Regions from separate parts of the Homo sapiens genome. Here all the other regions are linked to region 5. Evidence: promoter capture Hi-C in human tissues and cell types (Jung and others, 2019). All regions are on one chromosome and are shown on one strand. Each heading gives the region's core, a stretch centred on a gene start or on the middle of the fragment in contact. The rest is flanking DNA. Distances are from core to core; before and after follow the strand shown. Region 1 overlaps POLA2 (DNA polymerase alpha 2, accessory subunit). Region 2 holds the start of CNIH2 (cornichon family AMPA receptor auxiliary protein 2). Region 3 holds the start of PACS1 (phosphofurin acidic cluster sorting protein 1). Region 4 holds the start of DPF2 (double PHD fingers 2). Region 5 holds the start of AP5B1 (adaptor related protein complex 5 subunit beta 1). Region 6 overlaps PACS1 (phosphofurin acidic cluster sorting protein 1). Region 7 overlaps PACS1 (phosphofurin acidic cluster sorting protein 1).

The links. The method cuts DNA at HindIII sites, captures the fragments that hold promoters and counts their contacts. A contact is called where the count stands out against the background at its distance.
Region 1: a fragment that was not itself captured here is called in contact with the fragment with the promoter of AP5B1 in region 5 in 2 of the 25 tissues and cell types used here (dorsolateral prefrontal cortex and spleen).
Region 2: the fragment with the promoter of CNIH2 here is called in contact with the fragment with the promoter of AP5B1 in region 5 in 1 of the 25 tissues and cell types used here (lymphoblastoid cells).
Region 3: a contact is called between the fragment with the promoter of PACS1 here and the fragment with the promoter of AP5B1 in region 5, in 2 of the 25 tissues and cell types used here (heart right ventricle and lymphoblastoid cells).
Region 4: a contact is called between the fragment with the promoter of DPF2 here and the fragment with the promoter of AP5B1 in region 5, in 1 of the 25 tissues and cell types used here (spleen).
Region 6: a contact is called between a fragment that was not itself captured here and the fragment with the promoter of AP5B1 in region 5, in 1 of the 25 tissues and cell types used here (dorsolateral prefrontal cortex).
Region 7: a fragment that was not itself captured here is called in contact with the fragment with the promoter of AP5B1 in region 5 in 2 of the 25 tissues and cell types used here (dorsolateral prefrontal cortex and lymphoblastoid cells).

Annotation. Positions count from the first base shown.
Region 1 is chr11:65,279,473-65,282,857 of GRCh38, forward strand. POLA2 (DNA polymerase alpha 2, accessory subunit) reads left to right here. Exons shown (of 18, transcript NM_002689.4): 7 at 66-154; 8 at 1,520-1,675; 9 at 2,198-2,260; 10 at 3,007-3,049. Among named protein-coding and RNA genes, the nearest start is that of POLA2, 19 kb to the left of the region's middle. RefSeq lists an enhancer at 1-997. The HindIII fragment of the contact is 6,666 bases long and covers 1-3,385 here.
Region 2 is chr11:66,276,925-66,280,284 of GRCh38, forward strand. It overlaps CNIH2 (cornichon family AMPA receptor auxiliary protein 2), which reads left to right and starts at 1,251. Exons shown (of 6, transcript NM_182553.3): 1 at 1,251-1,613. The coding sequence starts at 1,533. It overlaps RAB1B (RAB1B, member RAS oncogene family), which reads left to right. Exons shown (of 6, transcript NM_030981.3): 6 at 1-568. It overlaps LOC107984340 (a long non-coding RNA gene), which reads right to left and starts at 1,601. Exons shown (of 2, transcript XR_001748274.1): 1 at 1,571-1,601. RefSeq lists a silencer at 1,027-1,356. The HindIII fragment of the contact is 9,186 bases long and covers 1-3,360 here.
Region 3 is chr11:66,068,371-66,071,523 of GRCh38, forward strand. PACS1 (phosphofurin acidic cluster sorting protein 1) reads left to right here and starts at 1,902. Exons shown (of 24, transcript NM_018026.4): 1 at 1,902-2,472. The coding sequence starts at 2,117. SF3B2 (splicing factor 3b subunit 2) reads left to right here. Exons shown (of 22, transcript NM_006842.3): 22 at 304-938. The coding sequence ends at 375. RefSeq lists silencers at 1,462-2,081, 2,092-2,141, 2,292-2,421, 2,432-2,581, 2,642-2,846 and 1 more. The HindIII fragment of the contact is 13,254 bases long and covers 1-3,153 here.
Region 4 is chr11:65,331,659-65,335,186 of GRCh38, forward strand. It overlaps DPF2 (double PHD fingers 2), which reads left to right and starts at 2,194. Exons shown (of 11, transcript NM_006268.5): 1 at 2,194-2,260. The coding sequence starts at 2,229. RefSeq lists an enhancer at 2,446-2,495 and a silencer at 2,546-2,635. The HindIII fragment of the contact is 14,713 bases long and covers 1-3,528 here.
Region 5 is chr11:65,779,342-65,782,500 of GRCh38, forward strand. AP5B1 (adaptor related protein complex 5 subunit beta 1) reads right to left here and starts at 1,635. Exons shown (of 2, transcript NM_138368.5): 1 at 1,101-1,635; 2 at 1-1,001. The coding sequence starts at 1,250. RefSeq lists silencers at 709-978, 1,129-1,308, 1,349-2,088 and enhancers at 717-1,619, 2,349-3,006. The HindIII fragment of the contact is 21,769 bases long and covers 1-3,159 here.
Region 6 is chr11:66,123,171-66,126,194 of GRCh38, forward strand. All of the region lies in intron 1 of PACS1 (phosphofurin acidic cluster sorting protein 1), which reads left to right. Among named protein-coding and RNA genes, the nearest start is that of PACS1, 54 kb to the left of the region's middle. The HindIII fragment of the contact is 8,035 bases long and covers 1-3,024 here.
Region 7 is chr11:66,190,436-66,193,580 of GRCh38, forward strand. It overlaps PACS1 (phosphofurin acidic cluster sorting protein 1), which reads left to right. Exons shown (of 24, transcript NM_018026.4): 2 at 3,051-3,138. Among named protein-coding and RNA genes, the nearest start is that of KLC2, 66 kb to the right of the region's middle. The HindIII fragment of the contact is 5,080 bases long and covers 1-3,145 here.

The DNA of each region.
Region 1 (3,385 bases), core at 886-3,385, 500 kb before region 5:
ATTTTCTCTTCTTGGCAAGTGAAATGTCTTAAACATAATACTTTTTTCCACTTCTGGGATTGTAGTTCTGACCTGTAAGATAGAAGAACTTGGCAGCGAACTCAAGGAACATTACAAGATTGAAGCTTTCACTCCTTTGCTAGCCCCAGCACAGGTAAGAGTTGTTCTAATAGTTCTCACTAATTAATATTACGTTTTTAAATCGATGACCAAGAGGCATCCTTCTTGCTTCCTTTTTCACTTCTTGTCTGTGTTCTAGTTTGAACATCTGTCTTGGTTGAATTTGGGAAAATGGGCCCTTCTGAAGAAAGATTTGTAAGTGCTGTCTGGTTTTGTGGCCAGAGAGTGATTTTCTTCCCACTTGGATTAGAGTCTTGCACATAAGCAGAGACTCAAGGCCTTGTTTCCCTTGGTGGTGAGTCAGGTAGCTCCCCGGGGATTTCCCACAAATAGAAGCATTCACGTATCGAGATAAAAGGACAGCAGCGACGGTGGGGTTTTCAGAATCTTGTTCTCTGGACAATGACTCACAGTCTCTCCCCTGGTTTGGTCTCTTGTTATAGACAAACTGCTGCCAATAGTATCTTTATATCATAGTTTAATCTGGCATATATACCAGTGCTTTCTCTCTAGAATGTTTTCTAATCTAAGGGGAAATATATTCTAGAAGTTTCTTTAAAGTACCTTTGTCAATGTTTACATTCAAAGAATGATCAGTTGGGGAAGTGATGCAGAACTGTGTCATAGAAGGAAGTGTTAGAGGACTTGGAAGGAAGTAATTGAGGGAAGGCAGGGAGGCACAATCACTGGGAAAGATGAGACTTCCTCTGTTTTCTCCCAAGAGTGGGAACAGAACAGAGGAAGCCATGGAGACAGAGATTTTAGCTCAATTAATAAAGAACTTCCTGTTAAGAGGTTGTATGGTATGTGGCTAAGGATATGGCTCTAGAGCCAAATTTCTGGTTTCAAACCCAAGCTTCACCCACAGTTTGACCTTGACTAAATTATCTAACCTTTCTGTTGCTTGTTTTCCTCATCTGTAAAATGGATACAGTAATATCCACCCGATGGTTGTTGCAAGGATTAAATGAGTTAATACATATAAAATGCCTAAGAATACATTTTAGAACAGTGCATGGTATTTAGTAAGCTCAAGAAATGTTAGCTATTATTAAGTAGTTATAGCTGCCCAAAGATGCAGTGGGCTGCCCTGGGGTGGTGAGGACAGGGTGGGGTAGGCATCCAGGGGCAAGTTCCCCTACACTAGAGATGCTCACACTTAGGCAGCCTCCTAGGAAGGCTCAAGTGCTGGGTGGATGGGTGGACAAGATGCCCTTTCAGAGTTCTTCCATCCTGAGAGTCAGTGATGACGCGGTAGTCACCTCAGGGTCAAAGCAATGCCCTGCCAAGAAATGTATTTGTTGTTTGCAGTTTGTTTTGCTATTCACCCTATCGACTTCAGATTTTGAGCTCCTGCTCCAAAGACTGTCATTCTTATGCTGTGACCTTCCTTTGGTAGGAGCCTGTCACTCTGCTGGGCCAGATTGGCTGTGATAGCAACGGGAAGCTGAACAACAAGTCAGTGATTCTCGAGGGAGACCGGGAACATTCCTCGGGTGCTCAAATTCCAGTGGATTTATCTGAGCTTAAGGAATATTCTCTGTTTCCTGGACAGGTGAGATTGGAGGAGTTCCACCAGAATGCAGGCGCACTCTTTACCCCTGTAGTGTAGGTGCTGTGCCATGCGCAGCTGCTCCTCAGTTCCTGTCTCTGCTGCCATGGGGTGCAGCTGGAGCACATGCCCCAGAGCAGACACCACTGTTGGGATTCCTGTTTCCCCCATGCTCTGACCCAGGCTCTGGGACCTGACTGCGCAGCCTCAAATCCCAACTCCCCGCTCCATGAGGTGCATGACTGTGCACAAGGTACTTAACCATCTAAACTACAGTTTCTTCACTCACAAAATGGAAATAATAATTCTTACCTCATAGGATTGTTGTGAAAATTAGATCACTTATATAGAGCATAATTATTATTACTAATGCAACGCCCTTAATTCGTTTTCTACAAAAATGCCCTAAGTTTATGATTACAGAATGAGAGTAGTTGGACAATGCTTTTAACTGCCTCAAAATAATGTATTCCAGACCTCATTGATCTCCACTGCTTAGCAATCCTGTTTGTTTTTGTCTTTCAGGTTGTAATTATGGAAGGAATCAACACCACTGGTAGGAAACTTGTTGCCACCAAACTCTACGAGGTACACAGCAGTACCCCCACTTGCCTCTTGGTTTGCTTCAGACAAAGTATGTCTGGAAGCTGTCTGTTCTAGAAACTGGTCCTTTTTAGGAGCCCATTTATTTGTTAGTCAGTTCTCCATCTGTAAGTGGGAACCCACCCCTAGGCCAGGGGTCAGCAAACCCTTTCTATAAAGGGCCAGACAGTAACTCTTTTAGACTTTGTAGCTATATGGTCTCTGTCACAATGACTCAATTCTGCCTTTGTCTACAAAAGCAGCCATAGAGGACTCTTAAACAGATGACTGTGGCTGTGTTCCCATAAAACTTTATTTAAATAGTGGGCTGCAGCCAAATTTGGCCCAGAGGCCGAAAGGTTACCTATCCCTGCTCTAGGCAACAATCCTCCAGAGATTTTCGTAGAATGCCAGGAAAAGTAGCAAGAAACCATTCTCTCCCATCCTTGCCTAGAAGTACACTGATACTTTAGGCACCTGTTTTGCTCCCACTTGTTGCTGGGTATTTTATGACAATTGAGTAGTGACCTCCCATTACCTGGGTTTCTTTGCCCTCTGAGCAGTATAGAAAAATGGCAGGTCCCATCAGATCCAGGGAGCAAGACAGAGGCACATCCTTCCCCTGCCCTCTCGCTCCTCCCCACTGTCCTCCCATCACACACCTGCACCACCCCCAACCTGGTGCCCTCCCCTTTCCTTACCAAGGTGATGCCTGGCGCAAGACCTTACTTGAGCTTTTCCCCTGTTTTTAGGGTGTGCCACTTCCATTTTATCAGCCCACTGAAGAGGATGCAGGTGAGTTTCGGTTCAAATATTGTTTTGCCAACAATGAGGATGGTAGACATGAGTCCAGGAGTGCAGTTTCCCAAGCCCAAGAAAGCTGCAGAAGCTGCTGAAGAGCAATGTGACCAAGCAGTGAGGGCGCCACCATCATGAGTTCGTAGGTTTTTTGTCACAAGACCCCTGGTCTGAGCCCAGTGAGCGTTGGTCGTGCTGTCGCCTGAGTTCTGCCTACATGAAGCATGTTGTTTAAAGACTAATGTTTAACAGGTATTTTTGAAGGTTGCCTTGGAAAGGAAAAGATGTACGATTTCAAAAAGAATTTATTTACATGCAGCATGGGCAGATGCG
Region 2 (3,360 bases), core at 1-2,500, 500 kb after region 5:
AGACAGACCCATGCGCTGCCTGCCCACCGTGCCCCTTTGTCCCCATGTCAGGCGGAGGCGGAAGGCCCACCGTGCCAGAGGCTGGGCACCAGCCTTAACCCTCACTCTGCTAGCACCTCCTCCCTTTCCCCAAGGTAGCACATCTGGCTCACTCCCCACTCCGTCTCTGGAGCCCACCAGGGAAGGCCCTCATCCCCTGCCGCTACTTCTCTGGGGAATGTGGGTTCCATCCAGGATTGGGGGCCTCTCTGCTCACCCACTCTGCACCCAGGATCCTAGTCCCCTGCCCTCTGGCACAGCTGCTTCCTGCAAGAAAGCAAGTCTTTGGTCTCCCTGAGAAGCCATGTCCCTCGTGCTGTCTCTTGCCTGTCCCACCTGTGCCCTGCCCTCCAGCTTGTATTTAAGTCCCTGGGCTGCCCCCTTGGGGTGCCCCCCGCTCCCAGGTTCCCCTCTGGTGTCATGTCAGGCATTTTGCAAGGAAAAGCCACTTGGGGAAAGATGGAAAAGGACAAAAAAAATTAATAAATTTCCATTGGCCCTCGGGTGAGCTGAGGGTTTTTGCAAGGAAGTTGTGGTGGCCAAGTGTGGTCTGTGGTCTAAGCCCAGCCTTGGGGTGGGGGGATGGAACTGGAACCCTGGGCTTGGTGGGGTGCACGGGGGTCCTGGCTTGGTTTCTGTGTCCTAAGGCTGCTGGCAAAAGCCCTTGACCCCGTTTCCTGAGGCCAGGAAAGCTGCTTGTGCTTCTGTGGTCTGTCCCCAAGGGCCCAGCACCGTTCTGTCAGGGAAAGAGGCAGGCGGCCATCAGCTCATACCTGGCGTGCCGCCGCCAACTCCCGCGGGGCACACGGCAGAGGTGTGGGGTCGCGCAGCCGCTGAGAGGGCCCCCACTGCACCTGGCCCAACCTCCTTCAGCGCCCCCCAAAACCCCACTGCTCCCATTCAGCCCCTGTCCTGGCGTCATTGTGTGTCCCAGCCAGGTGCTTCTGCCGTCTCCGACAGTGACAAGTGCCTCGCACTTCAGCCTTTGCCCTGAGCGCCCGCCCGAGGGGGCCGAGTGCGGCTGTGCCGGTGGCTGGAGTGCCGAGGGGTGCGGGGTGCCGGGGGCGGCCGCGTCTACGCTGTCCGGAGGGTGAACGGCCGCGGGCTTGTCGGGGCTGGGGGTGGCGCCCGAGCCGGGCGGGCAGACGAGGGGCCCGCGGAGACCCAGCCCCGCCCGAGGCCGCTCGCGCGGCGGCCCCGCCCCCGGCTCCGCCCCGCCGGCTTCGCGGGCTGGAGAGCGAGGGAGCCGCGGGCGAGGGATCGCAGGATGAGCGATCGGGGCCCGGGCAGCCGGCAGCGGACGCGCCCCCCGAGCCCACCGGCCCGCGCCCCGCGCCCCCCACGGCCCCGCGGTCCCGGTCCCGGCCGCATCACCCACGTCCCCCGAGCCCCACGGGCCATGCCCGGCCGGCCCTAAGCGCGGGCCGGGGGGCGTCCCCTTGCGCCCGGGCCCCGCGCTGGCGCCCCCCGGGCCGCCGCCCGGCGCGGGGGCCATGGCGTTCACCTTCGCCGCGTTCTGCTACATGCTCACCCTGGTGCTGTGCGCCTCCCTCATCTTCTTTGTCATCTGGCACGTAAGGCCGGGCTGGGGCTGGGGCTGGGGGCGGGGTGGGGGGCAGGGGCCACGCGGAGCTGGAGGGACCCAGGGCGGGTGGTCTCAGAGCCCAGGGGAAACTTGCTATCCCCCAGCCGTCGGCTTGTCGGCTTCGCCCCCATTAACACCCCCCGTGGTCGGCTTTCTTCCCGGGGCCCCCCTTCCTCCGCCGCCCCCGCCTGTCTGTGTGTATGTCAGTCGGTCTCTGACCCCCTCCTCTGCCCTCGTCCTCTGCTCCCATGCAGCCCGTGAGGTGGGGGGTGGAATTCTGGCATTTTTGTTGCTTTATCTTCTATGTCCCCCCCCACCACCATCCAGCCGCCTCCATTAGTCCGTCGGGCAGTTTGTCTGTCTGCTGCCCCCCCCCCCCCGCCTTTGTGGGTTTTTCCAGCCAGAGTGATGGAGCTGGTTGCTATGGCAACTGCATCTGTTTACAGGACCCACAGATCTCAGAGTCCATTAACCCTTTGCCTTCCCAGCCCCCTCCCTGACCAAGCAGCAGTTGGCTCTCATCAGCCCCCAGAGACCTAGCCCCCACCACCGGCTCACCTTGGGTTTCCCTACCCCTCCTGTTGGGGGCTTCCCAGCCCCCCAGGTTTCCTCTCCATTTTCCAGCTTCCCTCCTCTTCCTGTCCCCCTTCCCCTTTGTCTCTCACATACCCCTTGGTCTGTCCCTCGCCCTGGCCTAGCCTCACACCTGGTTCTTCAAAATGTCCATTCCTCATCCTGCATCCGACCCATCGCTTCCCCCAGGCTCCCTCCTCCTCCCCTCCCGCTCCTCTCCTCCAGGGCCTCCTCTGCCTGGCTCCCGTCCCCTCACTACAGAACTATCAATCAGCCTCCAGCTGGTTGTTGGGGGCCCCTGGCCCCACTTTACTGCCCTCCGTCCCCACCCCCACCCAAACCCCGTGCCTGTTTCTGTAACAGCCTGCCCAGCTCGGCCCTGGCTGGCTCAGCTCAGCATCCTCTGCTCACACCTCCCGCGCACACCTCCCTGATTGTCATTCCCTTTCAGGGGTCCTCTTATCCCTCCCTCAATCCCATTTCCCATAGCCCTTCCCTCCTTCCTCCCGGTGCCTCACCTGCTTCTTTCCCGGGCTCTCCACTTCCTCTCTCCTTTCTCTTCCTGGGACCTGCCGCCTGCTCCATGGTTCCCCCTGCGCTCCCTTTGCCATCCCCTGCCACCTTGCTCTTTGACATCGGGAATCCATAGACTGAACCCCTACTGTGTGAAGAGTGAGCCCCCAAAGGCACCTCAGCACACACCCCAGCTCCAGCCCTGTCACTCCTTGGCCTGGCTCTGCTCTCTCTCTGGGTCTTGGTTGCTTTGTCTTTCCCCCTCTCCCCCGCACCCCGAGTTACTCTATTTTTCTTTCTGTGGGGTAGGGGCAGGAGGGCTAGGGTTCTAAGGACTGGAGGGAGCTGGGGGCCACAGGCTAGGGAATGCAGAGCTGACCAGCTCCTGGGAGAAGGGCTCCTGGAATTCAAGAAGCCTCTTTTTGGGGCCTTCCCCACCCAGGGCCTTCCCACAGCCCCTGTGGGGTCCCTGTCCTCAGGGGATCCTCAGCAGTTTATCCACCACGCCTGCATTGATGCTTCCCAAAGATCAGGCTCTGGGTGGCTTTGAGGGGGTCAAGGATGAATAAAACCCAGACTTTGCCCTTGTGGAGTGCCCAGGCTGGGAGGAAAGGCCCAAGCTTTGAAGAAATGTCTTTGTTCATTCAACA
Region 3 (3,153 bases), core at 652-3,151, 290 kb after region 5:
AGGGACCCTGGCCTGCCGTTTTCAGTGGCATGGTGCCCTCTAGTGGTGAGAGTGAGGGTGGCCTCTGCTTGCTGCTCTGTGCTTCCTTAGATTTGGAAGTCTTAGAAATCCTCCAGTGGGCTGCCCTCTTTAAGGACGATGAGGGGGAGGAACTCAGCCAAGTCTGAGAGGGAGCTCGAAGAGAATTCAGATTCAGCGCCTTTCCCACAGACTTCTATGTCTATGTCAGGCTGCCCACCCTTGTTTTGGGGGTCCGGGGGTGGTTCAACCTGTCTTAACCTGTGTCTCTTTCTCCCTATACAGCAAAAAAAACGGAAAGCTCAGCCCCAGGACAGCCGTGGGGGCAGCAAGAAATATAAGGAGTTCAAGTTTTAGGTCCCCTCACACTAGCCCTTTTTTTGGCCCTACGTCTGGATGCCTGGGCTTCACACAAGAACCACCTCTCCCGCAGTTCCCAAGGACTTGTCATTTCATGTTCTTATTTTAGACCTGTTTTGTAAATAAAGCTGTTTCCCAAGGAAAGAGATGAATATTTAACACTCCTGAGCCTCCCTCATCTCCTTTTAGCCCCTTCTTGCAAAAGGACTAAAATAGTCTCTTTCTACAATCACTGGGCTGCCCCAGTAACCACGAACATAAACTGGGATTAGACGGCGCATTTGACTGGTGGTGACGCCAACCCCAGGCTGAAATCTGTGTTTCACCACTGCCCTGCTTTGTAGGAAGGCTTGGGGGAAGTACCTCTAGGTCTGGTTTGACCTTACTACTTTGTCCTTGGGGAGTAAAAATAGCCAGATTAGCGCCCTAGCGCGGCAGAGGAAGTAACAGTGGGCTTGGGAAGTAGGCCAGGGCAGGCCTTCCCAACTGACCTTGTGACCAGAAGTTCAAGTCCTTACCTGTGCGACAACATAGCTCAAAAGCTAAATTGTCTTGAGTCCATATGAACCCTTGGGTTCAAGCAACACTAGTCGCTGGGGTTTGGGATTTGTATGTGGGATGGGGGGACTTACTTTCTCCAGGTTGTAATCTGGTCCTGAGCAGCCTTTCTGACAGACTAGAGCAGGCTGGATCACTGGCTCCCATGGGCATTTGCCAGCCTGTGGGGAGGGTAGTCATGCGCTGCTGTTGTACTACTGTTGGTGTTTAAGTGCACCAGTGGAGGCGCTCACTTGCCGGAGGGTTCAAGATGGTCTCGGGGTTGTGGGGGGCATGATCCAGATAGGACGTGGCAGCTGAGCTAGGCCTTAGGAGGAATGGAATTTTAGAAATTTGGTAAGCAACAAAGCACTGGCACTCTAAAGAGGCATTTGGGGGGTAGGGAAAGAAGAGGAAGGTTGGCTCCAGATGGGCCCCGGGGTAGCTTGAGAATTCACTTATGCGAAGAACCTTCTGGACTCCAGGTCCCTGAGCCCCCGCTTGCCCTCGGGGCGGGAACTTCCCGGATCACAGGCACCCGCGGTGGCAGCGGGCCCCGGGTCTCCGCCGACCTCTCTGTTTGCCGGGGCCGCAGGGCAGGGCTAGGTCGGCAGGCGGAGAGCCGGCTTCCCCGGGCAGACCCCCACCGCTGGGGGCGGGTTCCGCATTGGCTCCGAAGACCCGAGGGGCCGAGGCGCGCTCCCGCGGCGGCCCCCTCCCTGCAGGGACCGAATCCCGGAAAAGCCGGGTTTCCGCTGGCGGGGCCGCGGCCGGCCGTGGGCGGGGAGGGGAGGAGCGGGGGCAGACTGGCAGCGGATTTGAGGGCAGGACCCGTGGGCGCGCGCTGGCCACAGACCACCCCTTCTACTCCGCGGGAGCGAGGGGCGCGCGTGGCTGCACGCAGGGCGCGAGCGCGCCCGGCCCGGCCCCTCCGCGCTGGGTGGGGCCGCGCGGGCCGGGCTCCCCGCCCCCTCCCGGACACGCCCACCCGTGTCGGCCTCGCGAGCCGCAACAGGCAGCGGCGGTCGAGCGCGAGGCCCGCGCGCCCAGAGGCCCCGCGCGTGCGTGCAGCTCGCTGGCTGCTCGCGCTCGGGCAGGCGGGCTGAGGAGGCTGCCGCGCCCCCGCCGCCGCCGCCGCGGGGGAAGCCTGGGAGCCAGATCGGCGTCGCCTCGGCCTCCGTAACCCCCGCCTAGCCGGGCCATGGCGGAACGCGGAGGGGCGGGCGGTGGTCCCGGAGGCGCCGGGGGCGGCAGCGGCCAGCGGGGATCCGGGGTCGCCCAGTCCCCTCAGCAGCCGCCGCCGCAGCAGCAGCAGCAGCAGCCGCCGCAGCAGCCGACGCCCCCCAAGCTGGCCCAGGCCACCTCGTCGTCCTCGTCCACCTCGGCGGCGGCTGCCTCCTCCTCGTCCTCGTCTACCTCCACCTCCATGGCCGTGGCGGTGGCCTCGGGCTCCGCGCCTCCCGGTGGCCCGGGGCCAGGCCGCACCCCCGCCCCGGTGCAGATGAACCTGTACGCCACCTGGGAGGTGGACCGGAGCTCGTCCAGCTGCGTGCCTAGGTGAGCGCGGGAGGGTGCGGCGGGGCGCCGGGGGAGCGGGGTGGCCGCCGGGGCCCAGCCCTCCCCGCCCCAGCGCCCATGGGGTCCCCGCCCTCCATCTCCCCGACTGTCCCGCGGCCCGGCCTGGCTCCAGCCAGGCCTCCCGGGACTCCTGCCACGGGGACCCGCCCTCTCCTGGCAGCCCCACCTTCTGCCTGGGGCCGGGACCACCCTTCTGTCCTCCCCGAGGGACCTTCTGGCCTCGGCCCCGGGCTTTCTCCGATTGGGCTGACCGAATCCGGCCTTCCTGGCAGTCAGTTTCCCTGAGTAAGTCACTCTCCTGCCTCGCCGGCGCCGGGAGCTGTACATACATGGATGTGGTATAGATCTCTTGATATTATTATTTCCCAATAGACTCAGCATGTGCCAAACTCGATTGTCACCTCTTGCAGGTAAAGCTCATATAATCACCCTAGGGGCTTCTCATTAGCCTTCGGCACACATGTTCATTTGAACTTCATATTACACACGTTCTGTCCCAAGCGCTAGGCTCTTAGTTTTGGGGCCCTATTTAATGTGTCCTCAAGTGTATTTTTACCTCCCCTCCCCCACTAAAACTGGTCCCAGAATCTCCCAGCTCTGCAGGGCTGTATGAAATTACTGCCTTGTTCCTAAATTCAATCCATTGCTCTCTGTCTGTTG
Region 4 (3,528 bases), core at 944-3,443, 450 kb before region 5:
GTTACACAGGTTTGTCTATTTTGTAAAGATCAATCAAGCTACAATTATTTTGCATGGTATACCTGCATCAAACCATCTCGTGTACCCATAAATATATACACCTACGATGTACCCACAAAAATTAAAAAATTGAAAAAAATTAGTCAAGCTATGAACCCGGAAGGCGGAGGTTGCAGTGAGCCGAGATCACGCCATTGCACTCCAGCCTGGGCAACAAGAGGGAAACTCCGTCTCAAAAAAAAAAAAAAAAAAATTAGTCAAGCTACATAAGATCTATGTGCTTCTCTTTATGTATATTTCAATTAAAAGTTTGAATTTAAAAATAGTACTAATAATAAATAGGCTAGCTGCATATAATTGGAAAGGCAGCTTATGAACCCAGCATCAATAGCTTTCAGTTCTTTTAGGATTGTTTAAGAAAAGGTTACATCAGCTGGCCAGGCGTGGTAGCTCATGCCTGTAATCCCAGCACTTGAAAGCCTAGGCGGGCGGAACACATGAGGTCAGGAGTTCGAGACCAACCTGGCCAACGTGGTAAAACTCTGTCTCTACAAAAAATACAAAAATTAGCTGGGGGCACCTGTAATCCCAGCTACTCGGAAAGCTGAGGCAGGAGAATCACTTGAACCCAGGAGGTGGAGGTTGCAGTGAGCTGAGATAGTGCCACTGCACTCTAGCCTGGGCTGGAAGGAAGAATTTGTTAAGGAGCGACAAGAGCAAAACTCCGTCTCAAAATAAATAAATAAATAAATATAAACAAATAATGTTGTTACGAACATTCTTGTACAGCTTTATTTTTTTTTTTTTGAGACGGAGTCTCGCTCTGTCACCCAGGCTGGAGTGCAGTGGCGCGATCTTGGCTCACTGCAAACTCCGCCTCCCAGGTTCACGCCATTCTCCCACCTCAGCCTCTCCAGTAGCTGGGATTACAGGCGTCCGCCACCATGCCCGGCTAATTTTGTTTTTGTATTTTTAGTAGAGATGGGGTTTCACCATGTTAGCCAGGACGGTCTCGATCTCCTGACCTCGTGATCCGCCCACCGTGGCCTCCCAAAGTGCTGGTATTACAAGCGTGAACCAATGCTCCTGGCCTGTTTTTTTTTGTTTTTTTTTTTTAAGAGACAGGATCTTGCTATGTTGCCCAGGCTGGTCTTGAACCCCTGGGCTCAAGTGATTCTCCCACCTCACCCTCTCAAGTAGCTGGGATTACAGGCATGAGGCATTGCACTCAGCTTCTTGTACAGCTTTCTTGTGTGTATATCCAGGAGTGGACTTTGCTGGGTCATAGGGTATGTGTATTTTCAGCTTTAGTGATTATATTTATATATATATATATATATATACATATGTATATATATACATATGTATATATATGTGTATATATATATATGTATATATGTGTATATATATATGTGTATATATATATGTATATATATTTTTTTTCCTTTTTTTTTTTTTTTTTCTTGAGATGGAGCCTCGCTCTGTTGCCCAGGCTGGAGTGCAGTGATGTGGCTCCAGTGGCTCACTGGAGCCTCAAACTCCTGGGCTCAAGTGATCCTCCCACCTCAGCCTCCCTAGTAGCTGGGATTACAGGCATGCACCACCATGCCCAGCTAATCTTTTTTCTTTTTCTTTTTTTCCTTTATTTATTTATTTATTTATTGAGAAGGAGTCTCGCTCTGTCGCCCAGGCTGGAGTGCAGTGGCGCGATCTCGGCTCACTGCAAACTCCGCCTCCCGGGTTCACGCCATTCTCCTGCCTCAGCCTCCCGAGTAGCTGGGACTACAGGCGCTCGCCACCACACCCGGCTAATTTTTTGTATTTTTAGTAGAGACGGGGTTTCACCGTGTTAGCCAGGATGGTCTCCATGTCCTGACCTCGTGATCCGCCCGCCTCGGCCTCCCAAAGTGCTGGGATTACAGGCGTGAGCCACCGCGCCCGGCCCCGGCTCCTGCTCCTCTAAATATTAGAGGCAAGCCTCGAACCGGAGCTCCGGGATGCATGCCAATCTCCGGTTGCGCCTGCGCGTCGGGCTCCCGTGGGGTCCACGCATTTCCTACCCGGCCCCCGCGAACAGGCGTAAAGCTCTTTCTTCAGTGCTCGCTCTAGTGCGCGCGCCCGGACGGCGCCTGCGCAGAGGGCAAGGAACCTGGTACCCCGGTGCGGTCCCGGCGCCTGCGCGCTGCGGACTGTGGGGCTTCTCGGCCCGAGGCAGAGGAACAGGGAAGATGGCGGCTGTGGTGGAGAATGTAGTGAAGCTGTGAGTGGTCGTTTCTTTCTCTCCTAGGGCGGCAGGTTTTGTAAAGGGCCTGGGAGTAGGGGGCGGTGGGGGAAGGGACTAGGCGGAGAGAGGGACATCCCCGGGAAAGCCATGTTGCGACTCCTGGTGGGGAGGGCAACAGGAGACTCCGGAGAAGACGTTGCGCTTCTTTGGAAACTTGTGGAGGCCCTGGTGGGGGCACACTGGAGCCCCGACGGGCGGCATCCCTGCGGGGCTGTGTGGCCTCAGCGTTCCTCGGGGCTGACGGTTTCCAGAGCATGGCGCCCTGCCTGCACGCGAGACTCACCGTCCCGGTCCTCTCCCGAGACGCCTCAGTCCGGAGGAGCGGGGCCGAGGCCCGGGCGGCCCTACGGCTGGCCCGCCGCCCACCCCGCCCCGTCCCGTCCCGTTCGCTGCAGCAACAGGCTCGGCGGCCCCTGCGGAGTGCACTGCGGGGCTGGCTGTTTCAGTTCCAGGCAGCCCCGTGATGTTTGGGAGGATCTTGGGTGGCAGGTACCTAAGACTACAAATATTCTTGGGAAGAATTTATCGAGGAGCGGATCCAGAAGGGAAGGAACTTCAGGGGAGTGGGCCTTGGCCCCGTCCAGTAGCAGCCATCAAAAACCTGCAACTGGACCGAAGCCGTTCAGGACAGCTTAGCCTAAAGGGGCATCTAGGTGGGCATTCTTCCTATTATACGATACCATTGTGCTGGTCAGATTTCAAGCAAAGTTAAAGTTAATAGCTGTTGGGGCCATGGACGCTGGCCTATGAACTGCTTCCTGTGAGTTAAAGATGCTTTGGGACTTGATTTATTCCTACAGAAGAATCAGAATGAGTTTTAGATTGGGTTAATGCATGGTGGGCGAATAGAGCTTCTTTTAATGGGTATGTTGGGCTTGGTGCAAGGGTGGGAAAATTGAGTGGTGTCTAGCTGTCCAGTCAGGGTTTTTGCATTTTGACTGGATGACGAGGTAAAGGTTCGGTAACTCTTCTAAGGGACTCACAGCTTCTCATCTGTCTTTGTCGTGGCCTGAGCCCCACTCTTCCTAAGAGCCTTTTTAAAGAGTAAGTTGCTTCTCCCTCCTGCCTGAAGCCTTTTCTTTGAGAATGCTTTCCCACTTCCATTAAGCTAAGTGCCTTTCCTCCTCTTGTGGTTTGTTTTTTTTTTTTTTAAGTTGCTTTCTGCTCTATCCTGCTGTCTCTTTCAGCCACCCCTCCTCCCAACGCTATTGTCTTTCTCTCTGATCTGCCCACTCCAGTTTCCC
Region 5 (3,159 bases), core at 385-2,884:
TCAGGGCCCAGCGGCCAGTTCTCAGGGAAGCTCAGGACGCAGTGAAGGTAAAAGAGATGGGTGGGCGGAGGCAGAGCAGGGTGCTGGGCAGCCAAGGTGAGCCGGCGGAGCAGCAACGCTTCATCCTGGGCTGTGAACAAGGCCTCACCAAAGGCCGCCTTGAGCGCAAGCATGGCGTGCAACAGTGTCAGCTGTGCTGTGCCTAGCAGCCGTACCAGCTGCGGCTTGAAGAGTGCCGGTGGCTGTCCCTGCAGACCCCGCAGGGCCCAGCCCAGCAGCCACAGGAGCTGGGCCTGGGCCACAGGAGTGAGCAGATAGGAGGTGTCCAGAAGCTGGATCACCGCAGCCCGCAGCTCCCGCGCCTCCTCAGGGCTGTGCTCTCGTGCTGTAAGGCTACGCTCCCCCTCTCCCTCCTCAGCTGCCGGCCAGCTGGGTGCCTGGGGCTGAAGGCGTCCATCGCCCTCCTCCACTAGTGTCCAATCCCAGGGACCACCCCCAGTTGGGGAGACCTTATCCGTGAGCAGTCCCCCCAGGCCAGCCCCAACCCGGGACTGGAGCACCAAGGTGTTGCGCAAAGCGAGGGCCAGCAACAGGCTGAGTGGCTGGACAGGGCCTTCCTGCCCCAGCAGGCCCCGCAGCAACCCCAGGGAGCCCCCCAGCAGCCCGGGCTTGCAGCTCTCTAGCTCTCGCAGGCACTCGCAGGCCGTGGCCTGCAAGGGGCGCTGTTCCGAGGCGGGGACAAAGCCTCGCCCCAGATCGCTACCCGCGGCCAGGCCGAGCAGTAGGGGCAGGAGCCGGCAGGAGGCGCCCGAGGTGGGGCCCAGCGCGCCGCCCGCCGCCAGGGCAGTGGTGGCCGCCAGCAGCAGTGGCCGACGGAGAGCTGAGGGCCGCGGGGGTAGGAGGACCAAGGTGTCCAACAGGGAGGTGGCGGCCACTTCGGCCGCAGAGGCGTCGGGCCACAGCTGCGCAGGGTACTCCATGCTCAGGGCCAGCAGGGAAACCTGGATGGGGGATTAGGAGGGAATCACGAAGATGAGGTTCATGACGCGGCGGGCTGGGGTGACCCTGCGGAACGGCGCAGGGGACGCGTGGGGGCCTACCTTGGTCTGTTCGCTCAGCTTCTCACTTCTCAGGTCGCTCAGCAGGTCGCGACCCAAATCCTCCCCCTCGGGACCTGCCATGAAGGCAGACGGGCTGGCCCGGAAGGCCCCCAAGCGCTGGGCCCAGGCGTCCCGGCTCAGGGGCCCCATGGTGAGGCGCGCGGGCCCCTGCGCAGGGAAGAGGGACCCTCAGGCCGCAGCCACCGGGAGCGCGGGGCCCGCTGCCGACCCCGAGGGGCTGCGGTCACCCCCAGACGCCGCGCAGATGCCGGCGGGACCCGCGCCCGGCTCCCACGGTGAGACCAGGGCTCTCGGGGCCGACGCCAGAGCTGGGCGCCGGGGCCCTCGCGGGACAGGACAGGAGCAGGGCGGGGGAGGGTGCGTGCCGAGAGCTCGTTAGGCCGCCTCCCTCCCGCCCGCGGCCCGCACCGAAACCACAGCGCCACCCCGGCCCCCGGCGCCGGCGGTAACGGGCCGCGCTCGCCGCCTGACTCAGCCGCCGCGGGCACTCAGGCCGGCCGGCTCCTTCCGGGCTGGCGGCGCGGGGCGGGGCGCGGCGCGGGGGCGGCCGAGTCCGGGCGGGGAGGGGCGGGGCGTAACGGGGCCACCGCCTCCCGCAGGTGTCGACTCGCAGGTTTCGCGGGGGCTGACTAACTGTCCCGCCGCGCAGGCCCCCTTCCCCGAAACCGCCGCAGGCCGGGGCAGGAAAGGCGGAGGGGAGTGGGTAGGGGTGGCGGAGCGGGGTGGGCCTGGGCCCCAGATGCCGGGTACCGCGGCGCAGGGCTGCGATCCCGCGGCCCTCGGCGGACAGCGGCCCGGTCCCACCAGCGCCCGCCAAGCCGCGCAGGGCGGCAGCCAGCGCGCCCCCCGCCGGCGCCCGGGCACACCGCACCCTGCGCCAGACGCGCGGCCCCGGGGGGCGTGGGTGCGGGTCCTGGGGCTCCCGGAGTGGCCCCTGGGGGTGACCAAGGTGCGGTCGCAGGGCGCCCGCAGGAAAAGCGCCCCAGCTGAACCGGTCCGGCGGGCGCCGCAGGGCTTGGCTTCGCTTCCCTGACGCCTGCCCGGGCCCCCAGCCCGCTCGGCTTGGGGGCGAGGAGCCGGCGCCGCGGTTGCGGCCAGCCAGGAGCTTCTGACCTTTGTTTGCCCGAGGCCGCGCTGGCGGCCCGCAGGGGTCGTGACGGCGAGGGCGGGGCAGGGCCCTAAGTCGAAAACAACGGGATCCATACTCGGGAAGTGCGGGCTGTCAGGGCCTGGCCGGTCACGGGGCTCGAGGCATGCCTAGCGATGGGGAAAACAGGCCCAGGAGGAGGGCGGCCTTGCCAACCGAGATCTGGGGCCAAGCCGGGCCGGAACCCAGCACTCCAGACTTCAGTGGGCTGGATTCTGGCTGTTTGGGGGCATTCGGGGGTCTGGGCGGCGGTCTCTCCCAGGCCAGAGGCCCAGGTTGCAGGTGCCCCACAGACCACCGGTTTCCAGGGCACAGAACCGCCGGCGCCCAAACCTCACCACCCCTCTGGCTCCAATTAGCCGCTTTGAAGATGAAACAGGCCTGAGCCCCCATGCAAGCCAGTGCCAGCTGGCCTCTCCCTACCCCATCCTGCTCCAGATGGGAGGTGGTGGAGAGTTGAGGGGTGGAGAGTGCCAAAAAGGAGGCTGTCTGGGTGCCCTTGGGGATGGAGAGATAGAGACCCACTCGGAGGGACAGGTCCAGCCAGAAGGCCCGGTCCCGGCTCCTCTAGGCCCTGGCTCCACAGTTGACTCACAGGCAGCAGCCCCAAACTACTTCCCTCTAGGTGCCTCAGTTTCCCCATCTATAAAATGGGAGTGATAACTCCCACCCAAGAGGCTGTGGGGTGAGGCAGCCTGGCTAATTAAACCCAAGATGAAAGAGGCAGGATGAGAGCAGCCCTGGGGAGGGGAGGCAGCCTGCAGTAGGAGCCAGTCTGGTTTCTCTGTCTGAGCCCAGAGGGTGCTGGTAACTGCACATCCCCGGCCCTCACCACCCTCACGGTGAGGCAGGAATGATCATTAAACTTCTTGCAGAGTTGAGAAGACAGGT
Region 6 (3,024 bases), core at 54-2,553, 340 kb after region 5:
GGCTCAGAAAATTGTTAGCTTTTTTTTTTTTTTTTTAATGAGACGGAGTCTTGCTTGGTTGCCCGGGCTAGAGTGCAGTAGCATGGTCTTGGCTCACTGCAACCTCCGCCTTCTGGGTTCAAGCAATTCTCCTGTCTCAGCCTCCCAAGTAGCTAGGATTATAGGCACGTGCCACCATGTCCAGCTAATTTTTGTATTTTTAGTAGAGACAGGGTTTTGCCATGTTGGCCAGGCTAGTCTTGAACTCCTGACCTAAGGTGATCCACCTGCCTCGGCCTCCCAAAATGCTGGGATTATAGGCGTGAGCCACCACGCCTGGCTCAATAAGCCATTTTTATTTTTTTATTTTATTTATTTATTTATTTTTTTGGGACAGAGTTTCGCTCTGTCGCCCAGGCTAGAGTGCTGTGGCGTGATCTCGGCTCACTGCAAGCTCCACCTACCGGGTTCATGCCATTCTCCTGCCTCAGCCTCCCAAGTAGCTGGGACTATAGGCACCTGCCACCGCGCCCGGCTAATTTTTGTTGTTTTTAGTAGAGGTGGGGTTTCACCGTGTTAGCCAGGATGATCTCGATCTCCTGACCTCGTGATCCACCCACCTCAGCCTCCCAAAGTGCTGGGATTACAGGCGTGAGCCACCGCACCCAGCCCATTTTTAAATTAAAGTATATACTTTTTTTTTTTTTAAGACAATGCTATTGCACAGTTGATAGACTACTGTATAGTGTAAACATAACTTTTATATGCACCGGGAAATAAATAATTTCATGTCACTTGCGTTATTGCAGTGGTCTGGAACTAAAGCCACAATATCTCCAAGGAACTGTTTACTTGCTGTCTCGCTATCAGACTGTGAGACTGTCAAGGGCAGGCATTCTGCGCAGCTTTGGCAATACCGTCTAGTTGTAAAAAAGACGGAACTGTTTCAGGCCATGGGCATTCTAGTGGGAAGACAAATATTTAATCTCAAGTGTGCAAAATGCTGCCATAGAACAGGAGTGCAGTGGAGCATAATAGGAGCTCTGGACCTTGTCTGAACACATAAAAGAAGCCTTTTTCCTAAGGAGTGATTGCTTAAGTTGAAACCTGAAGGATGTGTGGGAATTAGCTAAGTGAAGAGAAGGAAGAGTTCCAGGCAGAGAAAACTGTGGACATAATGGCTTTGGGCAAGTTACTCAGCTTCTTCTCTGCTTCAGTGTCTTCATCTATAAAATGGGAATAATATAACCTAGAGTTATATAGTTAGGGTTGTTGTGATCATAAAGACAGTATTTTAAGTCATCATCTTCTAATATTTCTGAAGTGGGGCATAATTGGTTCATTCAGGATAACTTCTGGGTCCACGTTTATGTATTGAATGGCTAAATGTATGGATCTGCTTACTGCACTTTAACCTTGTTCTTTACCTGCTCTGAAGCCTTTCTTGCATTTTAATGACAAGAACGGTGTATTTTGCCTTTCAGTGAGTTTGTTAATTATGGAGATCAAACTCTGCCTTTCATTACTGCATAAGTCTCATGGTGTGTCAGACATCTTAGGTCAGTGTGTGTCATCAGTTAGAATGCTTTCACCTTCAAGAAACAGAAAAGCCAGCTCAATGACTTAAACACACAGATGTTTATCATTTCAGAAAACAAAAGTCTGGGGCAAGGGTGAGTCCAGTGCTGGTTAACTGAGCAGCCTGGCAAAGGCATCAAGGAGCCAAGTTCATTTTGCCCTCCTGCTTTGTCATCCTCAGTACAGGCTTGCCCGCTGGCTCCCCATGGTCTCAGGTGGCCTGTCGCAGTTCCAGGTGCCACAGGGAGACACCAGAACATCCCATTGAGGAGGAGGAACTGTTTCTTTCCATGTCTGTCTCTTTATTGATGAACATTTGGGTGGCTTCCACCTTTTGTCCATTGTGAATAATGCTGCTATGAACATTGGTGAACAATAAATTCTTTTTAAAAATACAGCATCTAGGGGCTAAGCTATGAGGATGCAGAGGCATAAGAATGATACAATGGACTTTGGGGACTCGGGTGAAAGGGCAGGAGGCAGGTGAGGGATAAAATACTGCAAATTGGGTACAGTGTATACTGCTTGGGTGTTGGGTGCACCAAAATCTCAAAAACCTACGGAAATAAAAAATTAAAGTACCACATCAATTAATGCGTAGACCAAATCTTATTGCAATTAAATTTCTACTTTTAGCATCATTTGCTACAATGAAGTTCTAGTATTTGAAATATTTTGAGCCACTGACTTGCTGTTTAATGGGATTTGATCCCATAGTAAAGAAGATATAAACCAAGTAAGTCAAAAGGATCTTAGAAGCAATTTTATTCCATCCTCTATTTTGAAGATGTTCTGGATTCAGAGTGATTTTCCAGGGTCAGAGAGCTAAGTCATGTTAAATAATTCAAAGTGTATGAAAATACACATTACTCACAGATTCAAGTAGAGTAACCAGGGGTGTCTTTTGCCTCTAGTCTTACTCTAACCAGTGTCTAACTATGCCTGTGTAGATAAAATAAAATAGAAAACTGGGATAATTCAGGTATTCAAGTAATTGAAGAAAATCAGTCCTGTTTAAAATATCTGGGCAGGCCGGGCATGGTGGCTCATGCCTGTAATCCCAGCACTTTGGGAGGCCGAGGCAGGCAGATTACTTGAGGTCGGGAGTTCAAGACCAGCCTGGCCAACATGGTGAAACCTCGTCTCTACTAAAAATACAAAAATTAGTCATGCATGGCGGCGCATGCCTGTAATCCCAGCTACTCGGGAGGCTGAGGCAGGAGAATTGCTTGAGTCCAGGGAGCAGAGGTTACAGTGAGCCGAGATTGTACCATTGCACTCTAGCCTGGGTGACAGAGCAAGACTCTGCCTCAAAAAAAAAAAAAAAAAAATGTGGGCAACTCTAATACTTAGCTTTTAGGTATTTGCTTCAGTAGTCCACTTTATGTGTTAGTGTTCGACATTACTAGTGGGATTTTGCTTCTCATGCTCTATTTTCTGATTTCTATCACCAGTGGTTTCATAGTT
Region 7 (3,145 bases), core at 74-2,573, 410 kb after region 5:
TGTTTTTTGAGATGGAGTCTCCCTCTGTCACCCAGGCTGGAGTGCAATGGCGCAATCTTGGCTCACTGCAGCCTCCACCTCCCGGGTTCAAGCGATTCTCCTGCCTCAGCCTCCCACATTTCTTTTTATTTTTAAGAGAATGGGATCTTTCTATGTTGCCCAGGCTGGCCTCGAACTACTGGGCTCAAGCAGTCCTCCCACCTCAGCCTCCTGAGTAGCTGGGACTGCAGGAGTTAACTACATTTCTGAATAGCCATTTGTGAACTGTAATAATCCCTTTGATATCAGTAGAACCAGAGTTCCCTGTGGGACAGCACATCTCTGCTCTGAAGGGAAGGGAGAAACAGGCGGTACTGTGGGCAGTCATTGAAGGGGGGATTTTGGAGGAAACAGCATGAACCCAGATGGCTCCAGAGCAACAGATGTCAGGAGAGTGTTTTAGGACATCAGAGTTGAGGGCACCCAGGTCACAGGCTGAGGAGGCGGTGACGTGATGGGGAAGGGCCAGGCCCTGGGATGAGGGGTGGTTCACTTCCTACTGCTGCTGTGACGAGTGGCCACAAACTTCGTGACTTCACACAACACACGTTTATTATCTTGCATTTCTGCAGGTCAGAAGTCCAAAATAGGTTTCACTGGGCAGCACGGAAGGTGTGGACAGGGTGGTGCTCCTTCTGGAGGCTGCAAGGAAGGACTGTTTTCTTGCCTTTTCCTGCTTCTTGAGGCTGCATATTCCTTGGCTCCTGACCCCCTCCCTCCATCTTCAAGGCCATCAGCCATATCTCCAGTCCCTGCTTCCTCCTTTGACTCTTTCCTCCCTGGCCCCCTCTTTTAAAGGCTCTTGTGATCATATTGGGTCCACCCAGATAATCCAGGATAATCTCCCCATCTCAGGAGCCTTAACTTAATCACATCTGCACAGTCCCTTTTGCCATGGGACTTTGCCAAGGTACCATATTCACAGGTTTTGGGGATTAGGAGATGACATCTGGGTGGTGGGGGCTGGGTATTTGGTCCACCACAAAGAGATTAGTTAGAATCCAGCTCTGTCATTTACTGGCTGTAAGTGAATTTGGGCAGGTCACTACTCCACTTGAAATGTTTTTCTGTTGCATGCGTAGAACAGTGAGCCCCCCAACACACATCCACACAGTCCTGTTTTTGAGGTCTAGGTAAAATGATATAGATGAAGAGACCTGATAAGCTTTCATACATTTTATTTGATTTTGATTCTAGCTTAAAGCAAAGAAAGAGATTTATTTGTTTTTCTTTGTGTTAGTCAGCAGATCTTTGAAAGTACTTGGGTGACTGGGCGTGGTGGCTCACGCCTGTAATCCTAGCACTTTGCCAGGCCGAGGCAGGCGGATCACCTGAGGTCAGGAGTTCGAGACCAGCCTGGCCAACATGGTGAAACCGGTCTCTACTAAAAATACAAAAATTAGCCAGACATGATAGTGGGTGCCTGTAATCCCAGCTACCCAGGAGGCTGAGGCAGCAGAATTGCTGGAACACGGGAGGTGGAGGCTGCAGTGAGCCAAAATCATGCCACTGCACTCCAGCCTGGGAGACAGAGTGAGACTCTGTCTCAAAAAAAAAAGAAAGAAAGTTCTTGAGTGAGGTTAATTCAAAACCAGAATTTAGTTCTGTTGACCTGGATTTGTCCTCCTTTAAAAAAAAAACAAAACATGAATTATATTAATTTCTTCACATACTCTTGTTAATCTGATTTTAGCTAGAAGCCATTTTAGGAAACTTAATGTAACAAATATTTGCTGAGCAACTATATACTGTGCCCAGCATTTGGGCAGATGTTGGGGAGAGAGCGGTGGAGAGGCAAGCCTGCTGCCTGCCCGCCGGAAGTTACACTCCAGTGGCATGATAGGAATTGTGCTGGGGACACATCACAGACTTTGCAAGGCATCGGGGGAAGTTCTCCTGGCAAAAATGCATAACCCAAGGCTGAGGAGGCGTTAGGTGGCAGGGTGGTGCCAACAGAAGGAACAGCAGCCTCCAAAGGCCCTGAGGCGAGAGAGGGTGGCACTGCCACGGAGCCAAAGGAAAGTTAGTGTGGCTGGAGCTGAGGGAGGGCTGTGGAGATGCAAGACAGGGGCCTGAGCAGGGCCTAGAGGGCCTCAGCACGGAGGAAAAAAGAGGTATGAAATCCAGCCGGATTCTCTGGACTTGTCATGACTCTGGTAAGCAACATCCCTCATGTGTACCGTTCCCCAGAACCTCTCCCAGGAGAAGAATGTGTAAAGACTTTGACCACCCAGGCAGCCATAGAAAGGCAGCTTCCAGAGTCTCCCTCCCACTCCTGCTGGAAGTCCAGGGTGGCCCTGCTGTGGTAAGGCCAAGGTAAAGTCAGAGCAGAGTTACTGAGACTCCACAGTGAGGGACAATCCTGTCACTTTTGAGTTGCGGGGAATTTCTTGATTTGTGGCACTGAAGATTTTCTGCATATTTGGAGCAAAATGCAGCTGAAATAGAATTTGTGACCATTTAACTATTTCCTGCCAAATGATGTATGTTTTGTTTGTGTGGATTATCTCCTCTTGCTAAAGATTTACATCTGTACATCTGTCAGGTGTGATCAGGTGGAAAGTAGAAGAGGAACTGTGTGATTCTCCTCCCTTGGTCTCCTCTTCCCCCTCAGAAATGGCTCCAACATACTAGGCATGGAGAATATTTTGCCTTTGGCTTGAGATGAATGATATCCATGGAAGTTCATGCAATAATGTACCTTTTGACACTTAACTTTAGAAGCTGGGCATGGTGGCATGTGCCTGTGGTCCCAGCTACTCAGGAGGCCAAGACGGGGAGGATCCTTGGGCCCAGGGCTCCAGTCTGGGCAACATAGTGAGACCCATCTCTTAAAAGTATAAACATTAAGTAAGAGGGGATGCTCTTCTACTGAGAGAGGGGACCCCTGGGACTGAGGACAGCGTTCTCACATTCTTACTTCAGGTAAGGCAGATTGCCTAACCAATTGTTCATCACTTTTCTCGCAAGTTCCTCGCATATGACAGCATCTTCCTTCTCTGTTTTTCTAGGCTATTCAGCTTGACCCTGAAGAAACTCGTCATGCTAAAAGAAATGGACAAAGATCTTAACTCAGTGGTCATCGCTGTGAAGCTGCAGGTGAGTG